Regions from separate parts of the Homo sapiens genome. Here regions 2, 3, 4, 5 and 6 are each linked to region 1. Evidence: promoter capture Hi-C in 16 types of primary human blood cells and fetal thymus (Javierre and others, 2016). All regions are on one chromosome and are shown on one strand. The core of a region is centred on a gene start or on the middle of the fragment in contact, and the rest is flanking DNA. Distances in the headings are between cores, read along the strand shown.

Evidence for each region. The method cuts DNA at HindIII sites, captures the fragments that hold promoters and counts their contacts. A CHiCAGO score of 5 or more calls a contact.
Region 2: a contact is called between a fragment that was not itself captured here and the fragment with the promoter of CHRM3-AS1 in region 1, in 1 of 17 cell types (megakaryocytes). The highest score is 7.3, in megakaryocytes.
Region 3: a fragment that was not itself captured here is called in contact with the fragment with the promoter of CHRM3-AS1 in region 1 in 4 of 17 cell types (activated CD4 T cells, fetal thymus, naive CD4 T cells and 1 more); the score reaches 6.8 in activated CD4 T cells.
Region 4: a contact is called between a fragment that was not itself captured here and the fragment with the promoter of CHRM3-AS1 in region 1, in 6 of 17 cell types (M2 macrophages, activated CD4 T cells, M1 macrophages and 3 more). The highest score is 8.3, in M2 macrophages.
Region 5: a fragment that was not itself captured here is called in contact with the fragment with the promoter of CHRM3-AS1 in region 1 in 9 of 17 cell types (M0 macrophages, M1 macrophages, total CD4 T cells and 6 more); the score reaches 8.6 in M0 macrophages.
Region 6: the fragment with the promoter of CHRM3 here is called in contact with the fragment with the promoter of CHRM3-AS1 in region 1 in 14 of 17 cell types (activated CD4 T cells, megakaryocytes, naive CD4 T cells and 11 more); the score reaches 21.3 in activated CD4 T cells.

What each region holds. Positions count from the first base shown.
Region 1 is chr1:239,897,602-239,901,642 of GRCh38, forward strand. CHRM3-AS1 (CHRM3 antisense RNA 1) reads right to left here and starts at 2,271. Exons shown (of 2, transcript NR_046582.1): 1 at 2,163-2,271; 2 at 418-791. All of the region lies in intron 6 of CHRM3 (cholinergic receptor muscarinic 3), which reads left to right. The HindIII fragment of the contact is 7,774 bases long and covers 587-4,041 here.
Region 2 is chr1:238,951,385-238,955,425 of GRCh38, forward strand. No RefSeq gene overlaps it. Among named protein-coding and RNA genes, the nearest start is that of CHRM3, 430 kb to the right of the region's middle. The HindIII fragment of the contact is 950 bases long and covers 1,215-2,164 here.
Region 3 is chr1:239,321,698-239,325,738 of GRCh38, forward strand. No RefSeq gene overlaps it. Among named protein-coding and RNA genes, the nearest start is that of CHRM3, 63 kb to the right of the region's middle. The HindIII fragment of the contact is 2,408 bases long and covers 565-2,972 here.
Region 4 is chr1:239,348,967-239,353,007 of GRCh38, forward strand. No RefSeq gene overlaps it. Among named protein-coding and RNA genes, the nearest start is that of CHRM3, 36 kb to the right of the region's middle. The HindIII fragment of the contact is 1,469 bases long and covers 1,171-2,639 here.
Region 5 is chr1:239,365,680-239,369,720 of GRCh38, forward strand. No RefSeq gene overlaps it. Among named protein-coding and RNA genes, the nearest start is that of CHRM3, 19 kb to the right of the region's middle. The HindIII fragment of the contact is 2,922 bases long and covers 498-3,419 here.
Region 6 is chr1:239,384,653-239,388,693 of GRCh38, forward strand. It overlaps CHRM3 (cholinergic receptor muscarinic 3), which reads left to right and starts at 1,916. Exons shown (of 7, transcript NM_001375978.1): 1 at 1,916-2,575. RefSeq lists enhancers at 2,638-3,138, 3,139-3,639. The HindIII fragment of the contact is 9,736 bases long and covers 1-4,041 here.

The DNA of each region.
Region 1 (4,041 bases), core at 1,021-3,520:
TGCAGTGGAACAGAATCCAGCTGCACTCTTTCCCTGTTTCTCTCAGAAAAGAGTAACTTCAGCAACAAGGAGTCTGCCCTTTCTGGGTGAAGGGGTCATACTAATATTTAACAAGAACCTCTCCCGCCTGCTTTTCACTTCGTGCCATTTCTTTAGATATTCTAATGACAAAAGGTTTTAGACTTGCGAGTGCTAATGCAAGGAAACATCAGTCGAATCTAGGTTTTTGTTTTTGAGGAAAAACTGTTATTTCAGCAGCTACTGCTACACGTAAGAGGTCCTGATGCAAATCCTTTTCCAAGCACCCTGCATTGTTGTTGTCAAGGTCCATATTTATCAAATCAAGTAAAAACCCATGAAAAGTGGCAACCGAGGGAGGAGGCAGCAAGATAAATCAACTTTCTAAAAAAAAAATTCCCCTTTTTAAATAGAATTTTATTCCGGTTTTGGTGTTCAGAGATGTTTTGTTCACAATAAGAGCCATTGCTCCATATTAGGTAACATCTTTTCCCCCTTGCAGCTTCAAATGAATATCAAGAGCCAGGTTCACAAGTTGGATTCCCTTTAAAGACACGTTTGATTGCAAAGCTTTGTTGACTCTGTTTGATATCCTCCGCGAACTGCATGACTGAGCTAAGCTGAAGTTCCTGGTCACCAGCATGGGGAACGGGTAGCTGCTTCAGCGCCTGCTGGCAGAGAGGTCGTTCTCCGAGTCTGCTTTGCCACCTAGTGGTTTGATGTGGTATTGCCATTCACCAGGTAGTTTTAAAAGTCATTTTAGCCGTTGAATGCTATAGTGAATTATGACAGAAAACAGAGACACTCTAAGCAAAGAAGGCAGTCAGAGACCCAAAACAAGCCCTGAAAAATGACGCAGACTGGATTACAAATAGGGAAGAGGCACTAAATAGTTGGTCTGAGAAAAAACGCACGGCTGTATGTTGCAAAGATATTTTGGGTTTTTCCCATATCATCACTTAAAAAAATAATTATTATTATAGACGTAGAATTAATTTAGACTTCTAGAAAAATTTATACGCTTTTAATTGGTTCAGCAGGTTTAAAAATCGAGAGCCCTCAAACATTTTTCCCAAGTAGGTACTGCCCGGTTGGCTCAGAGGACATGAAATGAGTTTATCTCCTTGGAATTCATTATAACCAGAAGCCTCACATGTATATTGGCCTTGTCCGTTTCTGTAAGCAATCTCACATGTATTTCACACTGGATATTTACACATTTTTAAATTTTTTAAATTTACCTATATATTTCACAGACTTATAACCCCAGAAAAGTTATTTTTTGCCATAACTAGGGGGAAGAAGGCAAATTTCCTAGAACTAACCTTCAATTTCTCCTAAATTCAGTACTGTCAAACTTTTTTGTCTTTTTTCACATTTTTTGTTTCACCCTCTTCTTTTAAATATTAATAAAAGATGTCAAAATATCCACTGCAGTGGCTTTCCAACATTATTCAACACAAAATACATTGTACGTACATCATGACTATAGACATAATTTTATACGTGTGTGTATGTCGAGCAAAAATTTAATGAAGTGATATTGATTGTCATTATGTGGTATGCATTCTGATACGTCCTATTCAATTTGCTGTACATTTTTTTCTTTTTTAATTCTCATATTGGCCCACTAATTGGCTCTTGCATTTTGAACTCAGTGTGTGTGTGTGTGTGTGTGTGTGTGTGTGTATATACACACACGCATATATATCTATTGAATTTAGTGTGTGTGTATATATACATAAATACATATATACATATATAAACACATATACATATACACACATATACATATATACACACATATCTATACACATGTATGTATATGATATGTATATACATACGTATATATGTGTGTATATATACTCACACACATGTATATATACACACATACCAAGTTCAAAATGCAACAGCCAATTAGCGGACCAATTAGTGTGTGTGTGTAGTGTGTGTGTATATATATAGTAAGTTCAACATGCAATGTATATATACACTAAGTATATGTACATTGTATATAAGTAAGTATACTAAGTACATAGTATATATACACGATATAAGTACACTAAGTATATCGTATATATATACTAAGTATATATACATACACACAGATGTAACTTCCCCACAAAGGCACTGATGGTACCCACGTGCAGGATCTTGCGCAGTTTTCCACTTCTTGCCTGAGCTCTGGTGCCTGGAACACTTCAGTAACCATTCCCTGAATGTTGCACCCACAACCTGGCAGGGAGGGAGCCTGCTCTGACCCCAGAGAGGAGCCAGGCACCTGCCCCTGGTCTGCCCCTATCTGACCATGCCCTGAGCCCTCATGCAGGCTGCATTCCTAGAACTCTTGCCTGGGATTACTTATAAAGTGCGAAGGTCACTGGGCTGACAAGGATCTCTGTTCCCACCACCTGTTTATTCCTGAGCATTACAAGGAAAGACTTCCTGTAGGTCCCCTCACCAATATCATTCAATTCAATGAGTGTAGACTGTGAACTTCCTTGACTCAAAATATCCTAATGCTATGGAATAGCTGTTGAGTCAGGATGAGGAAGGAATATTAAACATAGGAATGATACCTTCTACTCAGAAAATCACCGTAAACTGAGGGCTCTTAGCCCGGGGTTATCACTGCTTCATTTGGGTCTGACCTACAGTCTTGATTCTCAGGAAGTTACATATTACCTATGAAATAATAGATATACCTGAAGTAAAACATTTGGTGACTCTCATTTCTAATAAGTACTTTTAGATATTCTTTTTTTTTTTTTTTTTTGAAATCCTTATGACCGGCTGATCACTTTCTCCTGTTGTCATCCTGGGTACCGATAGGACCTCCGTTGCTGAGCCTCCAGAGAACAGTCCTTTTAATGAGGCCGTGGCCCCAAGGCCTCGGAGAAGTTCATAGAAAATGTCTGAAAGAAGGTGGGAGGGATCTTGTTTCCTGGCCCTATAGGGACATTGTCTTCCTTGATAAAGCTGGGTACAGCCTTGATATGAATAGATTGGGGAGCACCAGGAATGTACCTCACCTGGGCTGTCGAGAAAAGACAGTGTGCTCAGAAGAGGTATGGCAGGTGCTGAATATTCCCTTGGAGGGACGAAGGCAAGAAAGGCCCCTACAGCAATGAGGGGAGAAAATCCACAACCCAAGTAGAACTAGGATTTCTTATGTGTGAGACAATACATTGCTCATTTACATGTAAAGTGTGTATAATATTTTTAATCCATCGTATTCAGGCGAGCAAGATCAGTCATTTCATTTTTGTATAACTTGCCTCGAAGCTGCCTGTTGTGGCCCCATTCTGCATAGCAAATCACCACAAACTTAGCAGCTTACAACAAGGTTCCCTGTTCAGGGTCTCAACACTGAAATCAAGGTGTTCGCCCAGCTGAGTTTACGTCTTAGGCAAGACTAAGGAAGAATTCATTACCACAGGCATTCAGGTCATCGGTGCTTCTGCCATGGTGACCTAGTGACCTCTGAGCAGCTGCCACCTCTGGGCACCAGACAGGAGGGCATGAGGCACGCATCTTCTTTGAGTCTGATCAATATTATCAGATGCGACCTCTTTTTCCTCCAACCTTCTCCGCATTTAAAAGCAACAGCAGAGTGTAAGGCAAGATTCCAAGCCCTCCTTGGCAACCATCACCAATATCTGCCCCCTTTTAACTCTCTTCTTCACTTCCTTCTGGCTTCGGAAACTTTGGGATTTTTTTTTTTTTCCTCATTCGGGACATTACAGATTGAGCTGAAGTCTTCTTTGTCCATCACCCTCAATCCTAATTTTATCTTCCTCCTCCAAAATACCACTGCTAATATATGATTTGCATGTAAATCTTTCTATCCTTCTATGACAATTTTAATTATATTAATATACTAAAGGTGGTATCTGTCTATATGTCTGTATACAACCTTTAGTATACAGGCATGTACAATCTTTAGTATACTATTGCTGTGTTTTATTGTAAACTAAATTTTATCGTGTTGTATTTGTCATCCCACAACTTGCCTTTCTTACT
Region 2 (4,041 bases), core at 440-2,939, 950 kb before region 1:
AGGTAGGAGAGAGACCTCACAAGACTACAGTGATAATTTAAAATCTAGAACTCTCCTCTCTTAGTAAGATTTAATTTAAATAATTTTAAGCAACCAGACCCCAGACTCTCTCCTGCCTCTAGGTACCCTCAATGTCCCTCAATTCCTTTTTGTTTTCTTCTTAGGTAGAATGTTTGACCATCCTCTGCTAGCCTCCTTCACACCCAAACAGTCACATGTTACCTTACACCTTTAAGTGACTCAGCAGGGATTTTCCTTTAAAAAGACCATTCTTTCCCTGAAAACAACTCTGATTTCAGCTAGCAAAAAAATAGTGACTTTATTATGTCCATGCAAGAATATTATATTTAAGAAACATGTTCATGTAGCATAGGTATGTTTTTGAATACATTTGCAGTCCTTTATTTCCTGACATTATCCGCTGGGCAAAGATAGGTAAAGATGACATATTAACAATATGCTACTATAATCAAACAGATATTGATAGCAAGCAAAACGTCTATCTGTTCAAGTATGCTGATTAAGTAATCTACTGTAATTGCCCTTTCTCTGTAGTGTAGTCACTGCGGTCTCCATAATTTTACTCTTAGAGATTCCGTCCATTGGTGAAGCACTGCCCTCTTCAGGCAAAATCGCCTAAAGTATCAATACTCACAAGAAAAATATACTTGAATCCATTTAATTTGTAAGAGCACCACTTTGGTGAGGTGACGCACACACAAACAAAATTCTAGGAAATGATACGAGTTTTGCCTAAATAGGGGTAATTTTTAGATAAACTGGTGAGGTTTTACACCTGTTTAAACAGCTGAATGTGTCTGACCTTCTTTAACTCTCTGAAATTCCATGAACCATAAAACCAAAGAGAAAGAAGGCAGTACTTTAGATTTATGCAATCCATCAACTGATTAGAAATTATTTCAAAAGTATTAGTTAAATCCACAGTTCCAACATTGTTTTCTACTCTTTATTATAAACAGCATGGTGCTGTCAGCTGTTACTGACTTGAGAACAAGTCTAATCACAGGGAACTACATTTCTAAACATGACTTAATTAGCCTAATGTGTTGTTTTAAAAATTAAGAGCATTTCAATGTCATGGTGAGAGATCAAGTGTTTTCAATTCTATTTAAAAGGATATATTTGGTAGTTGAAAAGCTAGCTCTATTGCTTTGTTCTTTAAAAGAGAATGGAAATTGCTCAGCCACATCACAAGCTTCTTCTGTAAGTTTCATTTGGGTCCATGATTCTTTTCATTGTAGAGAGCACAGTGGGAACAAAATAGCCCTGTTAATTGCCTGTTAATTCCCACAAAAATTTTAAATGTATCTCTACTTTTTATAAGACTATTTTGTACTATCTTGCTATAAAGGTATTTATCTTATTCATTCTAGGCATTAAAAATGTTTTAAAATCACCTTCGTATGAGTCCCCAGTTACATCCCGGGGGAATCTTGGACTATCAAATTAGAGACATCACTCTCAGCAAATATTTCATGTTGTAGACTCTAGGGGGAAAGCTGTAATGCTTCCCGACATGAGAAAAAGCAGCATGTCTGGAGAAAGAGCAATACTATGTGCCAATAATTAAGACAGACATGTTTCAAAATAGGAAACTAGAGTCAATTGTTAGAAGTTAAATAAAAGAATGAGTTGATTGTGTCAGAAAATGATTCTGTGAATGCAGTCTATGAAAATCTGCAAACTATAGAAAAAAATAGATGTTAAACATCTTAAAAATCAACAATATAGGCTGGGCGCGGTGGCTCACGCCTGTAATCCCAGCACTTTGGGAGGCCGAGGAGGGCGGATCACAAGGTCAAGAGATCGAGACCATCCTGGCCAACATGGTGAAACCCCGTCTCTATTAAAAGTATAAAAATTAGCTGGGCGTGGTGGCAGGCGCCTGTAGTCCCAGCTACTCGGGAGGCTGAGGCAGGAGAATCGCCTGAACCCGGGAGGTGGAGGTTGCAGTGAGCCGAGATCACGCCATTGCACTCCAGCCACGGTGACAGAGCGAGATGCCATCTCAAAAAAAAAAAAAAAAAAAATCACCAATATAAAAGTTTGGCTTCAGTCTTGTTCCCGATAAAATTTTATGTTTATGGCTACTTTTTTAACATTCAAATAAGTAAAAATTAATCACAGGTTTAAGAATGATTAAAGCTTGTTATATTATAAAACTAATTTTAATGACTAGTAGGTTAATATCAAGTTTGACCAGTAGGTGCTCAGTGAAGGACGCTGCTTTGGAATGAAATATGCTGGACTCAAGTTAGATTCTCTTTAGGAACTTTCACAAGGCAGTTCTCGTTTGCAAAATAGATTTCTGAAGCCAGATACTTGGATTCCAACATTTGCTCTTTGTTAATTTATTACTTGCCTGTACATTTGCTCCACAGTCTCTGTTTCTTCGTCTATTAACAGAGATATAAATCTTCATCTCTCAAGGGTGTTGTGTGGATAAACTCAGACAGCATGTAGAGGTTCTGTATTACACTGCTTGACACATCATAAATGTTCAGTAAGTGTCAGTTTTGTTTCTCTTCTCCTTCACCTTTTAGGTCACACTTGTAATCCCAGCACTTTGGGAGGCTGCGGTGGCAGATCATGAGGTCAAGAGATTGAGACCATCCTGGCCAACATGGTGAAACCCTGTCTCTATTAAAAATATAAAAATTAGCAGTGTGTGGTGGCGTGCACCTGTAGTTCCAGCTGGGGAGGCTAAGGCAGGAGAATCACTTGAACCCAGGAGGCGGAGGTTGCAGTGAGCCGAGATCGAGCCACTGCACTCCAGCCTGGCAACAGAGCAAGACTCCATCTCAAAATAAAACAAAACAAAAACAAAGCTATAACAAAGCTAATATAAACAAAGCCAGTATAACTGTCTATGACTAGTATAATTAAAACTAATAAATGTATATATGAAGATGCTTTGAAAATTTTAAAGTTATGTCACCCTTAGAACATGTTATTTGGAGAATGATCATCATGGAGCAATGAAAAAGGAGCGTCCTTTGTTTGTTCATAATCACCTAAAGAATATGATCATAAATAATATTTCTAAATGTAGAAAAGAAGTATTTATCACTTCACCTTATAAATACCCCAGTCAGAGTACTAAAGTCTATTTGATTTATGCTATGCTCATGGAGTTCCTTCTAATAATTTCATGAGTAGACTTTCATACAGGGGCTAATTCCTCAGACAACTAGCATCAGTTATCAGACCAAATTTAGCGTTGTGAAAAATTCTGGTTCGTATCTGGATTTTTGAATAAGTCTCTTATGTGTCTGGTTATATGATACGATAATAAACTGATTCATAGAGTAGCATGTTCAATGACAAAATGTGAGAATTTGATATTACAGCAGCTTGAAAGCAGAATAAAGTGCCACAATTTTAAGATAAAATTCAAGATCCTTTATTATCTGAATTAACACGTAATTCCTAATATTTTTTCCACTATTCTCACTCCCTATCCAGATCCTGCATTCCAGCTATTTTTTTACACTATTTTTAAATTCAATTTTGTTGAGATATATAACTTACATATTATAAAGTATACCCACTTAGGTCTGCATTCTGGCAAGTTTTTACAAATGTATACAGCAGTGTGTATACACCAATGCAACTGTCACCACGGTGACTAATCTATTTGGAATCCTATCCACTGAATTTTCCATTTCAGACATTGTATTTGAAGTTAAGAAATAAGACAGAAGTGACTGGGGGAGGGGAGCAATATGTAGATGTATGGAATAAAAGGAAAGCAGATAGAAGGAACTAGAAGTTCTTTTGTTTTTCATGGGTCTCCTTTCTCATTTCACTCTAGTCACAATTAAGTTTCGTCCTTGAACATATTGAGCACACTTAGAACATACTCTGGCATTTTCATCTTATAGATGATAGAATTAGAAATACTGCTGCTTTTATTGACTAAATACTATGCTAATCAGTCACTTTTTTTGGTTTTTATGCTTAACAATTTTTTATTAGATATGTGATATTTTGACTATTACATTGTTGTCCGTTAAATTT
Region 3 (4,041 bases), core at 519-3,018, 580 kb before region 1:
AGAAAATATGAAATATGTGGTGAACAGTGTGGTTTGGCATTATTTGGGTTTTTTGTTTTGATTTGTAAGGATCATGTCTGCTTCTAGTGTGTAGATAGATCATAAATTGTAGCATACCTGGAAATATGACAAATTACTTATATCGTCACGTAATGTAGATTTATTTCTTCCTTTTGAACTGATAAGTCTAAATAAGCAATGTTCCTTAACTTTTATTTTAAAATGCATACATTTGTATTTGTGGGCTTGGTCTTCTAATTTAGTATTTCCAGTTAATGCACATGATGTCAGATATTAATATTATGTGAATGCATTACCCAAGGTCATGCCAAAGGCTGTTAAAGTTAAGCAGAGGAACCTTATCAGAGTAAATCAGCAAGGCATGGCACAGCTTTGAGTTTACGTAAGAGGAGGCAGAAAGGTACAAATAATTGATATGCCAATTCAGGTAAGGGATCAGCTCTAGAAACCACCCTGCTCTATATAAATAACATGTATTTGTTCAGATGTTTGTCTTGATAATTGTCCTCCCTTTTTTTTAATTTTTTGTTCAAGAGATGCAAAAGCTTCAGGAGGATGGATCCCAGGAAAGAAATCAATGGGCTCTGTGAACTATTTTGTGGCTCAGTTACCAATACCACAAGAGCAATTACATTAAATTAGATGCCACTGAACTGGCAGCTTTTATTGACCCTCTTAAAGTCTTTCTCTCTCTCTTTCTCTCTTTCTCTCTCTCTCTCTTTCTCTCTCTCTCTCTCTCCCCCTCTCGCCTCTCACCCCTCCCTCACTTTTCTTGTGCAGTCACACTCTGCAATTGGCACTGAAAGTGGCTCCTAGCAGTTTTGTTACACTGAAGGATGTGTCAACATTTTATTGTGTGATGATTCTAAAGTGTTTATTATGAAGGCGCTCCGGTTTGCATTGGGTTCAATTTGGCGCCAGCTAGATACACATTTGTTCTTAGATTTTTTTTTAACTGCTATGCATGTTGGAGGGGAAGTTGGATGACATTGTATTTATTTTAAGTTGTCTTTTTGTTTTTCTAAGAGTGACAAAAGGAAGGGTGTTTTGAGAATAATCTTTTTTTAGATACTGATTTCTGCAAGCAAAAAACTTTTTCACATCTTAAAATAATTCCCTTTGTGAAAAAGATTATTTAAATTTGAGATACAGCTGTTATACACATTTATTGACTTCTCTTAGCATAGCAATTATTTACTCTACAGGACATCCCTATGCCACATGTTATAAAAAGCCCAGTGCTTCTCCAAAGCCCTTTGATAACTTAATAAGTTCTTGTAACCATTAATAAAAATTACTCTTGCTTCTCCTAATTTTTTCATTGAAAAATGTCATGTGACAATCTGACAAAAGTAAACTTGAAGCTGAATTTTACGTCGTAAATCTAAAGCAGATGGTACATTTGTTTTTTGTTGTTGATATTTTTAAAATAGCCTTTCTTAGTCCTTGTTTTTCATCTTCAGATATTTATTGAATACTTGCTGCATTTGACACACTGACCCTGGGACTCTGAAGTTCACAAAGTATAGTTAGGTAGTCCCAAAACTCAATGAATGTATAATCTATTATGAAAAAGCGATTATGTTTGTATTTTCTGACACCTCAAATAATGTACAATCTGAGTATAGAGAAGGAAAAGATAACTTCTAAACTGGGGTTGTGAAGAGCACTGCTCCAGGCTATATTTGAGCTGGAAGATGTTTAGGACTTCCGCATGTGACATTAGGATTTGAAATCCTGGAAAAAGAGCATGAGCAAAGCGAGGGAAACAACAGGACACAATAACTCACTGGGAGGCCACCTATTTTGACAAAGCCATAGGAAAGTGATTTAATAGAAGGCTGAAAGGTGAACCAAGATTTAATTGTAGAAGGTATTTACTGTCAATCTAAAGAAGCTATTTGTTATTCAGAAGATAATGGAATCACTGCTGAGATATTAGTTAAAATATATATATATATATATATATATATATATATATATATATATATATATATAGCCACTAACAAATTTCTGTTTGGGAAAGATAAATCTGATGGTTGAGAATGGGAAAAATCAAAATGTAAAAAATAATAAAGTCAATAATATATTACTATGACTATTATTAGTACTATGATAGTTAGAGACATTCATTGTCACATTTCCTCCTTTTGGCCCTAAAATAGCTGTGAGGGATACGTCCATCTTTGCTCTTCTTCTTCTTCAATAGATCAGAAAACAGCCAGCTACTCTAGTCTCTCTGACGGGATCCTAACCTACTTCCAATTCTGTAGCCCTATGAGATTGGCAAACTCTTTTGATGATATCTTGGGTAGTTACTTTCCAGCCAAGGTTTTTATGTGCCTTACCAGACTCCAGGGCACTGCTATGCAAGGGTAAATCTCATCAGATATCTCAAGTCATGTTGGAGTCTTTTCCCAATTTCTTTCTCTTAGCACATTATCTCATCCCAATTTTCTAGGAAAATGAATCCTTCTAATTTTTTCCATATTCTATTCTGATGGAACCCTTGGAAATTCTGTATTAGCACTAGGCAATGTGTCTCCTTGCATTTCTGAAACTCACACTATTTCATCAGGCTTTCCCATCCTTCAGCTAATGCAGTTGGCCAACTCTTTCCATGGGCTGACGAAGAGAGAAACACATTTTTAAGATAGTATAACTAACGAAACAGAGAGTAGAAGATACATTAATAAATCAAAAACAGTTCCAATTTTCTGAACCTAAGGACTGAAAGGTTCAATATTGAGAATCCCTTCCTTCTTGAAGCACTCACTTCTCTTGACCTACAAGACATAGAAATATTTTGGAAGACACAAATCCTCTTTCTCTCTCTGGCCAATCTCTCTCTACATTTCTGGTTTATTTTCCTCTTTTCATCCTTGAGGTGTTCCATATAATTATTAGTGGAAGTCAGCAGCAGAGTCAGGCTTTAGAAGAAAATGAACTCAAGCTTAGACATTAAGAATTTTGTTCACAAGTAAAATAAGAGATATGATAATTGTAGCATCAGTAGTGGATGAACTCCAAGGAAGGAAGGAGTAAAAGAACCAGAAAATAGGGAGAGGATGGTCAGGGAGACAGACTGAGAACTTAGTAAGATATTTCTATCTTGTAAGTGAAGGGAGGTAAAATGTTCCAAGAAGGACATTCTCAGTGATCAATAAGGTCAGATTTTCCCTATAGATATAAAAGCTTATAATCCAACAAATTAGGAAAAAAGAAAGAGTAAAGTTTGAGAAGGCAGCAAGGTAAAGTGGATTTAGTATTGGATTAAACCAATGGTTGCATGAGAAGAAGATAGTGAGTCTTAAAATAGGAAAGGAGCTATGCTAAATATTCTTTACAGATAGAAAGTCCAATTTAAACTAACTTAGAGAAAAAATATATTCGGTTATGTAAGTGATCATTCAGGAAATCAGTAAGTGTCATCAGGTTCTGGTCTCTCTCCGCCTTTCAGTTTTGTTCTTGTCCATATGTCGATTTTATTTTCAAACACAATGTGATTTCAGCATGGCTGCTAGTGGCTCCAAGCCCACATCTTCTCATGTCCAGAGCTAGTGAAAAGGAATGTCTTCTTTTCCCCAGTGCTTATGAAAGTACACAGCCCCGATTCTCATTGGCCTGAGTTGGGTCAAGGTACATCACAAAAAACTTTAATTATAGCTGGTGGTTTTCTGATTGATCAGACTCAAGGCTTCTACTCACAGCTGAAGTCACCTCTATCTAAAGTGTCAGGATTGAAAAGGGGAACAAATGGTTCCCCTGTAAAAGACTGGGTAAGTTACCAAGAAAAGGGTAAATAGATATCAGGTTGGTAAAACAAAAACAAACTTAGGTCTGCCTCTGAGAAGGAACAGGAACAACCCATGATATGTAATAGAGAGAAATAAAGAGGTCGTTTGGTGGCATCTGAGAGAGCTGTTGAGAACTGTTAGACATGAATGGCAAATTGTGAAGGAGTAATAAATGTGCGTGCACATTAGAAATAGGGGCAGCAAGAATGAATTAGTTTGGATA
Region 4 (4,041 bases), core at 655-3,154, 550 kb before region 1:
TATTATTTCTAGTTTATCGTTTACAAAAGTTAATCTCAAATCATTACACAGAAATAGCAATGATAGCAGTATCATGTGTTAGTTAGCCTCTACCATGTTATGGCACTGATCTATACACGGTAGTATTGACATGTTTGGTAGTCACAGCTCATTGAGTAGCTAAGAAACTGATTAGGTAAGTGATGTTACACAACTACATGATACAATCAGAACGTAAACCTGGCACTCAGGTTCAAATTCTAGAAAAGTCACTGTTTATGCTGCAATCGGTAGCTTCAGCCAAATATCAGCATTCTAAGGCCCGAAAACTACTTTTCACCTTCACAACAGTAAAACTTTCAAGCTAGCATTCTAAATTAAGACTAAAAGGAACATTTAAAAATGAGTGTGTTTATTTTTATTTACTTTTGAAGGGGAAGAAGTAATCAGGAGTGTATTGTAACATAGTGAGGATCATAAAACATTTTGGCTTCTCATAAGTATCTGAAAACCAGAAAATTAATTTAAAAAGAATTCCAAAATGTATGGTTATAAGAACTTTTGTAAACACTCCATTCTTCAGGTTTTGTTTCTGTGGACTTTCTAACATAATAAATAGACCACCTCCTCTATAACTTGGAAAAATACACTTTAAATAAACTAGATAAAACAAGTTTGTATTTTTAGTAGAATGCTTGAAATCATGTTTTCAATTTAGGCTTCACTTCTGATAAAATATCATATTGGCCATCACAAATTCAGAGACTCAAGTTAGAGTTCCACTAGCCAGGTGCAGTGGCTCATGACTGTAATCCCAGCAGTACAGGAGGTAGAAGCAGGCAGATTGCCTGCGCTCAGGAGTTCGAGACCAGCTGGGCCAACATGGCGAAATCCCATCTCTACCAAAAATACACAGAATTAATCGGGTGTAGTGGCGCATGCCTGTGGTCCCAGCTACTTAGGAGGCTGAGGTGGCAGGATCACTTGAATTCCAGAGGCAGAGGTTGTAGTGAGTTGAGGTGACACCACTGCATTCCAGCCTGAGTGACAGAGTGAGACCCCATCTCAAAAAAAAAAAAAAAAAAAGAAAAAAGAACTCTACTAAAGTTTCCATATCTTTTCGAGTTTGTATTCTTGGCCTAAGATATTTCAAATCTAAAGAGATAAAAAATTACATAATTGGCCAATGTAAGCTTCATTTCTAGTATCACTTCCAACTATTTCTATTGAAATTGGACAAAGAAAACAAATAGTAAAAATAGCTACAAAAAATGATTCTGGGGAAATGAAGTTATTCGGGGCCAGTCTACAATAACGAAAAAAAAAAAAAAAAAAAAAAAAGAAACCAGTCCTAACAAGGAAGAATTTTAGTGAAAATAGGAGTTACATATTCATCAATAGTCGCAGACCTCCATGGTCAAAGCCTTGTGGATTATATTGTTTACTTTTTAAAAGATTGTTTCTGTTGGAGATAAAAAGAGGACCAAAACCATTTGAAGGTAGAATTCCAGAGGGCTGAGAAACAAACACAGCACCACTCATATAATCCTGATTTGGTGAAATAAATTATATTTTATGCTAAGTAGTATTTTCATTATTTCTTGCTTATGAGAAATACTTCAAGCTAGCTCACCCTAAATGATTTCATGTGCAAGTCATTGAAACGTCATTGAAACCTCTAGCCCTAAACACTATCTTCCAAATATGTCACAAGAATCTAGAGGGAATTAAATAAAATTTCTTTTCAATGATTTTTTTAATTATTGGATTTACTATCTCTTATGCAATACTAGCTAAAACATCTTCTGTTAACTGGCATGCAGGCAGATATTAGAGGAAAAGTAATTGAGTAATGACTTTTTAAATGAATCTAACCATGTTCTTACCTAATATAATTTAATAAATACTTATTGTCTTGTGCTTATTAGAGGAATCATTCAAAGGTTTTGCCAGTATCTAAAATCTAAAGGAAATTCTAAAGGTATGAGTCTACCATGCTTTGTTTAGTACTTTTATGATGACTGTGGACTATTTTAATGTGGGTCAGCCAAAAAGTGACCCTTCCATATCTAAAACTCCGCATACAATAATGTCAGGAATAAATGCTAAGTGGAATAACCAACAGGAAGACTCCACTATTAAATAGGAGTCTAGCTTCACTGCATATCTGAAAAAACATATTGGCAGGTCTACCTGCAAGAAAACTATTTAGTTTTGTCATCTGATTTTACTAAAGTCAGAAATGTGGCATCACACAGTGGAATGAAAAATACCTCCCATTTAATTAAATATCCTGTTGGTCAAGTATATGTCCACACTAAAGCATTATTCAATATACAAAGCACTGGTTTTTACTGTTGTACATAAATAGCCATAGAGAAAATCGCATGATTAATTAAATGTGCTATATAGTGACTCGCTGTGGCTAAATAAATAACCTTTGTCTATGCAGAAAATTTACACATTAGCAACAAATGATGCAAAATAGATGTGGGAAATCAGAAACCAAAATTTTCACTTTTCCTGGTTACAGTATAGAGTGTCAATAGTTCATACACATGCTACATTAAAACCTTTGTTATTTCTTCCAAAGAAACATTAGGAAAGTCTTAAGTTTTATAAATAGCATGGAAACAATGACGACCACCATTCTGATTACAAGCTTAGGACTCAAAAGAAGAGTGGTTTCCTTATTAGATCCATCATGTACTTTTTTTTTTTTTTTTTTTTTTTTTTTTTTGAGACGGAGTCTCACTCTGTCACCCAGGCTGGAGTGCAGTGGCGCCATCTCGGCTCACTGCAACCTCCGCCTCCTGGGTTCAAGCGATTCTCCTGCCTCAGCCTCCAGAGTAGCTGGGATTACAGGTGCCCACCACCAGGCCTGGCTAATTTTTTGTATTTTTTAGTAGAGACAGGGTTTCACCGTGTTAGCCAGGATGGTCTCCATCTCCTGACCTCGTGATCCACCCGCCTTGCCTTCCAAAATGCTGGGATTACAGGCGTGAGCCACCCCGCCCGGCCAATCATGTACAGTTTTTAGTGGAGTTGGCAGTACCCAGAGAACTGCCTGTGTACTGATGTTCTTTTTATTCCTGCTTTGTGACCTAACCTCACTAAAGTTAATACGTCCTACTTTTTACTACATTTAAAAAGGAATAAAAAAAAAAGCGAGAGAGAAGACAGAGAGATAATTGAAAGAGTAAGAGAAGGAACCAGGAGCCCGCGATAACATGAAATGGCAGCTAAGGAAATTATGTTTCCAGGGAGATGATGTTACCTAGTCTCGGAAACAAACTGTCTCCAAACTTAATGCCTTAAAATAACAGCTGCGTATTTGCTCATGATTCCGTGAGTTGGCACTTTGGGCTGGGCTCAGCTTAGAAGAATTGTCTTTGCTCACTCATGTCCTTTGTCGGGGCAGGTGGCATGACTGACCCTTCCCTCTCCTGGTTCTCTGTCAACCTCCAGAAGGCGAGCGGAAGCTGTTGGTTTTGTTTTGAAATGTGGCAAGAGATGCACCAGAGAACAATCTTGCTTCAGCAAGACCTTTTAAAGTATCTACTGGCTCTACATTTGCTGACATCCCATTGATCACACTCAGAGGAAATATAGGAGAGATTCAAACAAATGCCAGAGTGGTGAGAAACACTAGTTATTGGACGCAATTATTGTAACCATCGACCCCAAATGCTATAGAACACATTGTCTAAGTACCATTTGATGTGGTACTTGGAGACAAGTTTTAGAAGTAAGTGTGGGGTAAACAAAAAAGATTGAAAATGTTTTGTTTTGTTTTGTTTTTTAAAAAAGAAGAAGATGGGCCAGGCACGGTGGCTCACGCCTGTAATCGCAGCACTTTTGGAGGTCGAGGTGGGCGCATCATGAGCTCAGGAGATTGAGACCATCTTCACCAACCTGATGAAACCCCATCTCTACTACAAATACAAAAATTAGCCTGGCGTGGTGGCGCTTGCCTGTTGTTCCAGCTGCTTGGGAGGCTGAGGCAGGAGAGTCACTTGAACCCGGGAGGCACAGCTTGCAGTGAGCTGAGATTGCGCCAAG
Region 5 (4,041 bases), core at 709-3,208, 530 kb before region 1:
CTTGCTTTTGTTTAAAATTGTTTTGCTACAGTATTTTTCATGTCCTATAGCTCTTACTTTAATATCCATTCCTTCTTCATAGCATTCTGCTCTTCTTTAATGGGTCCACTATCTTCTTATGTCTCTGAGTATATTAAGTGCAGTTTCTTCGAAGCTGTTTTTGCCTTCAACATTGCCTCTGCTCCTTCTCAGCTCCCTGTTTATCATTGGTTGCTTTTTCTCTTTTCATGTTAGAGGCTTTTCTCAAAAGTTTTAAGATGCTAAGCTATCTGTTCATATTTAAAGCTTGCTTTTAAGCTCTGTGTGAATGGCAGATTGTTCTGACTGGTAGACTTCACTCTTTTAAGCATGATCCAAGCTTACTCTCTGGGATGGTTCAGTTTCTCTATCTAAGGATTCCTCAAATTCTTGATCCAGTTTACATGCCTGACTTCTGGGGAGGGGGAGGTGGTCCTGAACATCTAGTTGCTCTTAATGTAAACTTCCCAATTACCCCAAGCTTACGTCCCATCTCCAAACACACTTCTTCCTATAGTCCTGGTTCCTCACCTTCACAAGTCAAAAGAATTTCTATAAGAGAACAGATTAAAGTGTCCTTACATGAATTCTAAAGAACAGCTTTCTTCTCACTGATAACTCCCTTTATAGGTACATATGTGTGTATGTGTGTGTGTGTGCATGTGTGTGTGTATTTGAAGTTTCTCTAACTTATTAAGTAATTTATCATTCATACATCTTTGCACCTTTGTATATTTAGATTCAGAATTATAGATAACTCCTAATTTAATAACAGATGAAATCAGTGTTTCTGCTTCCTGGTGGGGGCAGAAACTTTGCTAAATTGTCTTCTTATACCAGAAATCCATTAAATTCAATTTTAACAATGACATTCTTTTTAACAAGCAAGATTATAGAAAATATTGCCCTTCAGATATTCCAAATTAATAACAATACTGTATTCAACATGTTTTATATTGCCATATCCATGCTGGGTATTAAATTTTATTCTGAATATTAATCAAAGTAGTAGAGAATGAATATCATCTTGTTTGAATTTGCGTATTTAAGATCTAGAAATGGTATTGTCTCCTGGAAAAAAAGGTGCCTAAAAATTTAGAACAGAGCTGAAAACCGCTAATTCTGCTTTCCTAGTGAAACAGGGAAGACTTCATGAAAGACCTGATATTTCACCTATATCTTCAAAGATTTGTCTACTTTAAAAAAAGACATTTAAAGAGGGAATTATATATCACAAGAGAATGGAAGCAAAAAAGGCGACAAGCATGTTCATAGAATAGTGAGAGATTTGAGATATGGGAGAACAAAAAAAGATAACATATGAGAAAGAATTTTGAGAAAAGTCAAAAGTTTACATGAATTCAAAGACATTATTCAAAGGCATTATTTTTATTGATATCGGTTGCATTTTCTTCCTGGAGTTTTACATCTTCTCAATGAATAATATATATACCTAATGGTCTAGTTTACAAAGAACCCACAAATCTTCTTCAAGAGAGCCCTAGAAGAGATTCAATTCCAATTTCATAAGAATTATTACTTGATAAAGAACTCATAAAACTGTCATAGTTGAGAATTAGGCTATAGCCAATGGTTGCTATTCATTGTGCAAATTCCCCTAAGCCCAGCTGTTTTCAGCACACGACTCGTGGGCAATTCCACGTGCATAGCCAGTGCCCATACCAGGAATGCCTGTCTGCTGTTCAAGGCCTTCTCCCTTGCCACAGGAGACCATGGAGCTGCAAGCTAGCTCAACACACAAAGGCAGGGGAATTAATACCCCAGGATAAATCCTTCACAAGTGAGAGTCAGGAGTCTTGAGGAAAGCCCCAGCAATCCTGTCCTCTAAGGAGACAATGCTAAGGACTGTTCTGTACAGTTCCTCAGAGGCTCCATGGGGACTGAGCCTCTACTTCCTCACAGAAGCAATTGCATCATGGAGCACATAGCTGACTCCTCTTCCTTCTTTTTCTCATTTTCCTACCTCTCTCACTTCTGCTTCCTAAAATGTCCCCCTGAATAAACGATCTATACCCATTTCTTCTTCTTGGGCACTGGCTTTAGGAAAATCAAAATAGGATGGATACTTAACAAATGATGTGCCTCTACTATTTATCTGTTTCTATCAACCCAGTATAATTTACAGGCATCCAGCTTTTCCATTTCCTTATTAGAAAAAATGAAAAATAGTTTTCAGTTATGGCTGGTGTTTTTTAACTTGCTGGCACTGATTCTGTGTATTTTGGATGAAAACTTTATCCATGATACATAAAGGGAGGACACAAAACTGAGAACCAGAAAATCCATATTTTAGTCCCAGGTTTTGTACTACCTAGAAGTGAGACTATATAGAAATCATTTTCTCTCTCTAAAACCTCAGCTTCTTGCTTTATTAAAATGAAGGTGTTGATGTAAAAGATTATCCCAAGGCTTTGATTTCATTATTCCATGAAATTATAAAGAGGCAGGCCTGCTTTGGACAAAGCTGTCAGTTGGACATGTTTCCCGGTGGTCAACAGGACACAGTTGGGAGTCTTATGGGTACCTGCTGCCTTGCTTCCCCATGCTTGGAGCAATTTCTGACCAGTACTCAATCCAAATCTATCCCTTGCTTGGATAGTTCCTAATGCCTCAATAGCCCACAGCTTTAAATATACACACATTTAATATATGTGAATAACAAGTTCTATCTGCTTCTAAAGAATATTACGAAGTAAACCATGTTAACAGGAAATTGACTAAGAAAGACAAGCCCACAAATTCCATGCTAGCCCTGCGTTCTTCCCACCTTCTTATACAACCCTCTTAGGTAACACACATGAATGTAAGCGACCTTCTCTACACCAGTCACCTGACTTGTATTGTTCCTCAAGGGTGAGGAAGTGTCTAGACGAAAGGGAGGGGAGACCCAGTGGTAGGTGGAACTTTGTGCTCCACCTTTCACATAACAGGTTGCCAATTCAGCTGTACTGAGGACAGGCAATGGGAGAAGGCATTAAAAGGGAAAACTGAAATAGTTCCTTTGTTCTGACTGTAGAAATGCTGAAAGGAAATTCCTGTTTGCGGCAGGTGATTAAACACATTTTATTAGAGGCTGTTACACAGAGAGAGTTACTCACGCTGCATTCTTGCAATAAAATGGTTCATTTTCTCAGTTTTCTCATAATTTACTTTTCAAATAGTACTAACTAGATTTATCAACGATTTGATAACTTCCAGACTGCCTGTCAGAGTCCATTTAGGACACTTTAACCTGTTCTTTTATGGCAATAAAGCTCAAACTTATCCACCAAATTCCTCCTAAGATAAAGGAGTATGAAATTGTATTTAAGGTATTGTGGTGGACGGGTAGCTGACTATGTAGCTCAAACTGCCTGAGGACAAGCATGAGATTTCTCCAAAGCTTTCTCCTTCATCTTAGAAGCGCTCATGAAATTGCTTTCTACTCAAAAATAATAAAATTCAACTTACATTAATTTTAAAATTTTATATGAAATTATTTGCTAATTTCATCAAAAAGTTTAAGGAAGAATAGCATGATTTCGATTTTATGCTATATTCTTGTGCTTTTCATCTATTTGCAGGGTAAAAGAGAAATCTCTCTTTTCCCTCCACACCTCTGAACTCTTCCTATATCATGTATTCAACCTGGAAGGTAGACTTCCCCTGTTAATTATGAAGCATAATTTCTGTGCATCTGAATTCCTATACCATGTCTAAATGTGAAATTCAGTGTCAATTTCATTATCCTTGCCAGTGAAACATAAGTATCAAAATTGTCTATCAAGTGAAACTGGAAAAAAGGGGATATTATGGCATTTGTATCTTCAGACTTCATTATTCCTAATGTTTCCCATTATAGCCTGTACCAGCTGGACAAACCTAGAAATTATTTTTTGCTGCTGGCATCTTATCTTTGATGATATGTAGGGTAGGGTTCAAAGCGAACACCACACACAACAGAAACATTGATTTTGTTCCCTGTATTCCTTTACTTCCTTTTACCCCACAGACTCCTTTAAC
Region 6 (4,041 bases), core at 666-3,165, 510 kb before region 1:
TAATGATAATGGGAAGGTTAGCTGAAATCAGGAAATACTGTATTATGAGTTTAGTGACTATTTACAAGTGGAAATGAATTTAATCTGGTATGATTTATTTTACTAAATTGTAGTTGCTTCCTTTTCTTTTCTCACTAGTCACAAATGATTTATTTCAGTATCTTCTCCAGAACATTGCCAGAGGCCAGTCTCAAACTTAACCATTGTATACATACCAGAATATTTTCATTAAAAATTAATAACTTTTGTCTTTCTCTGAAAACTACATAATCACTACTTGTCCATTCTTTTGGTCCTTGCCTGTTCTTTATGGATCAATATTATCAAAGCTACTCCTGTTTCCACAGGCAAATAACAATTCTATGTAATGGGAAAGATATTAAATCCGAATTCATGTTCCTCTTACTAGCTATATAATGGACAATTAAATTATTCCTTTAAATTCCTTTCTCCTTTAGTACACAAGGATAAAATACTCATTTGATTGTTTTAAAGATTAAAGAAGTATCTGAAAGTAACTGTTATATTTTCTTCTGAGAGGTATCCCAATAAAAAGGCTACAATATTGTTATTATTATTACTATTCTAGTATCCTGGATGCAATTTACCTAAGCCTAGATATTTTAATTAATTTAAGTAGCCACATGCTTTCTCACTAGCTATTTTCCCAGCATGATCTCAATCTTTTCTACGCAAAGTTTAGTCTCTTCTCTCCTAAAGATTGTTCTACCTAGAGAAGAATATAGGTTCAGAAAGGAATTCATATACTGGTGTTTCTCTAATCTCTTAGAATTACTTAATTTTTCAAAGAGCTCTATCTTTTCCTATTTATCTTCTTGTTCCAAATAGAATTAAAATCATTTGCTGCCTTTAATATTGTTAAATATTTCATTTCATACTATGCTTCAATTTCTTGCTTTTTTCTTCTTTTTATCTTCCTCCTTCCTTCCTTTTTCTTTCTTTTCTTCTTTTTCAGTTATCATTGTTATGCTTGTCCTTTCTTGTGAGATTCCTCTGTTATCTTTCCTTATGTGCTTTTTAAACAAAACCTCGAGAGTGCCGTGGGACAGCCTCATTGGTATCTTTTCAAATTTGGTATCTCTCCACTTTTTCCTTACATAGTTAGCTGGCAGTAGTACATAATAACCTTTTCTGTCTCTCTCTCTTTCTTTCTTTCTTTCTTTCTTTCTTTCTTTCTTTCTTTCTTAGATTTTCATTCCTCTTGAGCTTTAAAAGACTGGCTAGCAATGTTATATCTTTCATTTTATTTTCTGATTTAAAAAAGTGTGTGTGTGTGTGTGTGTGTGTGTGTGTGTGTGTGTGTGTGTACGCGCGCGCGCGCGCGCGTGCACGTCAGTGTCTTCTTCATGGATGCTTGTCTTATTTTCTCCCAAGGTGTAACTGTCCAGGGAGGGAAAAGTCAAGTCGTCCTCTATTACACTGCTCTGCAGAAACAGACTCACTAAATGTCAAAAAGTAGATGCATCAGACTGTTCCTTAGAGAAAGGTTTGCCATGGAGTCGTATATTGTAACTGAGCTGAAGTTCACTCATCGATAAGTTGTGCCCAAGGAATCGAATTCCTTCCAGTCCTTCTAAGCAGTCCAGGGAAACCAATTTAAAAGCGAACACAACAAAACTAACAGACCGGCAAAATCTATCTTTGAAGCGCCGCGGGAGGCACAATTTGGGAACAGGTGAGGCCATGCTGGGTGGGTGAGGCCCCCCTCTCTCCTGCTTGGTGTTCCGCTTTCAGCCAACCCACCCCAGGAGTACCCTGGGATCTCCTCGCCCCCTGCCAGGCGGAGAACGCGGAGCCCAGCGGGCACGCGGGAATGGAGCTAGGCGCCGGCAGGGCAACTGGGCATGCTCAGAAGCCGGGCAGGTTTTGGTCTCAAGCACGCAGCCTGTGCATTACACCAGCTCTCTCAGTCCGGGGAGGAGGAGGAGCAGGAGGAACGCGAGGAGGAAGGAGAGGAGGAGCGGCCAGCAGTAGCCACGACCGCCACCACCAGGCAGAGGAAGAGTTCGTGGGGAGGAAAAGACCTCTCCTCCCCCTTGGAGCGCCTTCTCTCTGCTTTTGGAGAAAGGGAATACACGATAAAGAAGGAGACGGAAAGAAGAGAAAAAGTGAGGCGGGAGACAGAGGGAAAAGGGCGTGAACAGAAAGGGCCGGAGCGTGCAGGGGAGCACAGGGCGCGGGGGCGGCACTGCCGAGCCGGGAGCGCTGCCGCTTGGGCAGGTGCCGCGGCCGCTGCCCGGAGGCGGCATGTGACGCGCGGCCGCAGCTGCCCGCGGGCGGAGCGCTCTCAGACCCCGGAGCGCACACCGCGGGGCCATCGGTGCCATCGCGGATCTCCAGGCTCCTCATCAGTCCGCCGGGGCCGCAGCAGCGCTTCTGGGAAGACGGGCGATGAACTGAAGGGCGGCTCCGGGCAGGGGGGCACGATCTTAAGGACAGTCGCTCCCTGAACGCGGAGCCGGAGGAGACGAAGGGAAGGTGGAGCGGACGCCACCCGCGCACCGGGCAGGCGCGGAGACCGGCGTGGGACAGCCACCTGGAGCGCAGCTGCCAGGTAGGGACGGCGCCCGCCACCCAGGCGCTGGGCAGAGCGGGTGGCGGTAGCGGCTGACCTGGTTTCTTGCCTTATCTCGTTGCGAAAGGAGGAAAAAGTTTTCGGCGCGGGTAGGAGAGGTCTTGTGTTTGGAGTCCAAAGAAGGGGCTGGGTAGGGACGAGAGAGGCTGTTGATTTGGGGAAGATGGGGGCACTTGAATTCCGACAGCGCGATCTGGTGCGGAGTTGGAGTTCTGGGACTGAGGGTGGGGAACGCCCGCTGGCACTCAAGTGCCCCGAAAGGGACGGGAATCATGCGAGCGGTGGCCGGGAGAGAGTCGGGGACGTCCCACCCCGCTCTCCCTCGCTTCGATTCTCTCTTCGCCACTGCCGGATCTGAGGCTCCAAAGTGCCCGAGCATGAGGAGCTACTGGGCTCCGGGTGTGTTTGTGAGCGCACTCGTGTGTTGAGCGTTTGTCTCCCATCTCCCCATTTGGTTTCCTGTCATTTCTAAGAAGGCTAAAGCTGGCACCCGCCAACCTCGCAGTGGGGCCGCAAGTTCGGATTGCATTTCAGGGGGCGAGAAGGCAAATTTGGCACTTCGAGTAACACTTGGGCGAAGGTACCTAGCCTAGTGCGCATCTTTACTGACCCGGGGAGAGTCTGCACTCGCGAGGCAGCGGCCGCTGGACTGCACCGGTTCTCCTCTTTGGAACACTTCCTCAGCATAGCCTCCTAATAGCGAGGTTAATTTTTGCGTGTTTTTAAACGGCGGGGGCGGGCGGACAGTTGACTCCAGCAGCAGAATTCACTTGTCTACTTCGCGGTGTGCGTGCTGGAATTGAGATCCTGTTCTGCATGCTTGTGCGTGTGTCCGACTCTCCTTGCACGCATTTGGAAGTGGTAGAGGCAGCAGGGATTTGGGAACTGCATCCATATGGATAGGTTTCAAGAATGCAAACCTTCATTTGTCTGCAAGTGTTACTGGAACCTGTCCAAAGGCTGCAAGGATATGTCCCCTCGATCCCCGCCAGTGTCCGTGTTTGCAATGTGAAAGGGCGGCCCTCTTTAGGACAAAAATGTATTTATCAAAGCGATGTGTGGTTAAGAACACTGGTTATTTCACCATATGCTTTGCACAGACTTTTCCTTTCTCTCTTGCCCTCTGAGTTCCAAGACAGATAACCTGTCCCCTCCCCCCATTTTGACCTTTGTAGGTTACTATTTGAAAAATAATTTTTAACTGGGTGCAGTGATTATATAGTCCAGATAATTTCATATTGTGAGATCGTTATATCGCATGAACCATTCATCATTATTTCCTGTGTTTAAAACAATGCCCATGTATTTACTTAAGAGAGACTATGAACATATAGTTCAGAAAGGGGAAAACTAAACCTAGAGCAGATACCTGCATATAAGCGTATTGTAGTGGTAGCACGTTAATAAAAAACTAAGGTATTTCTGTTCCAAATATTGTGGGATAG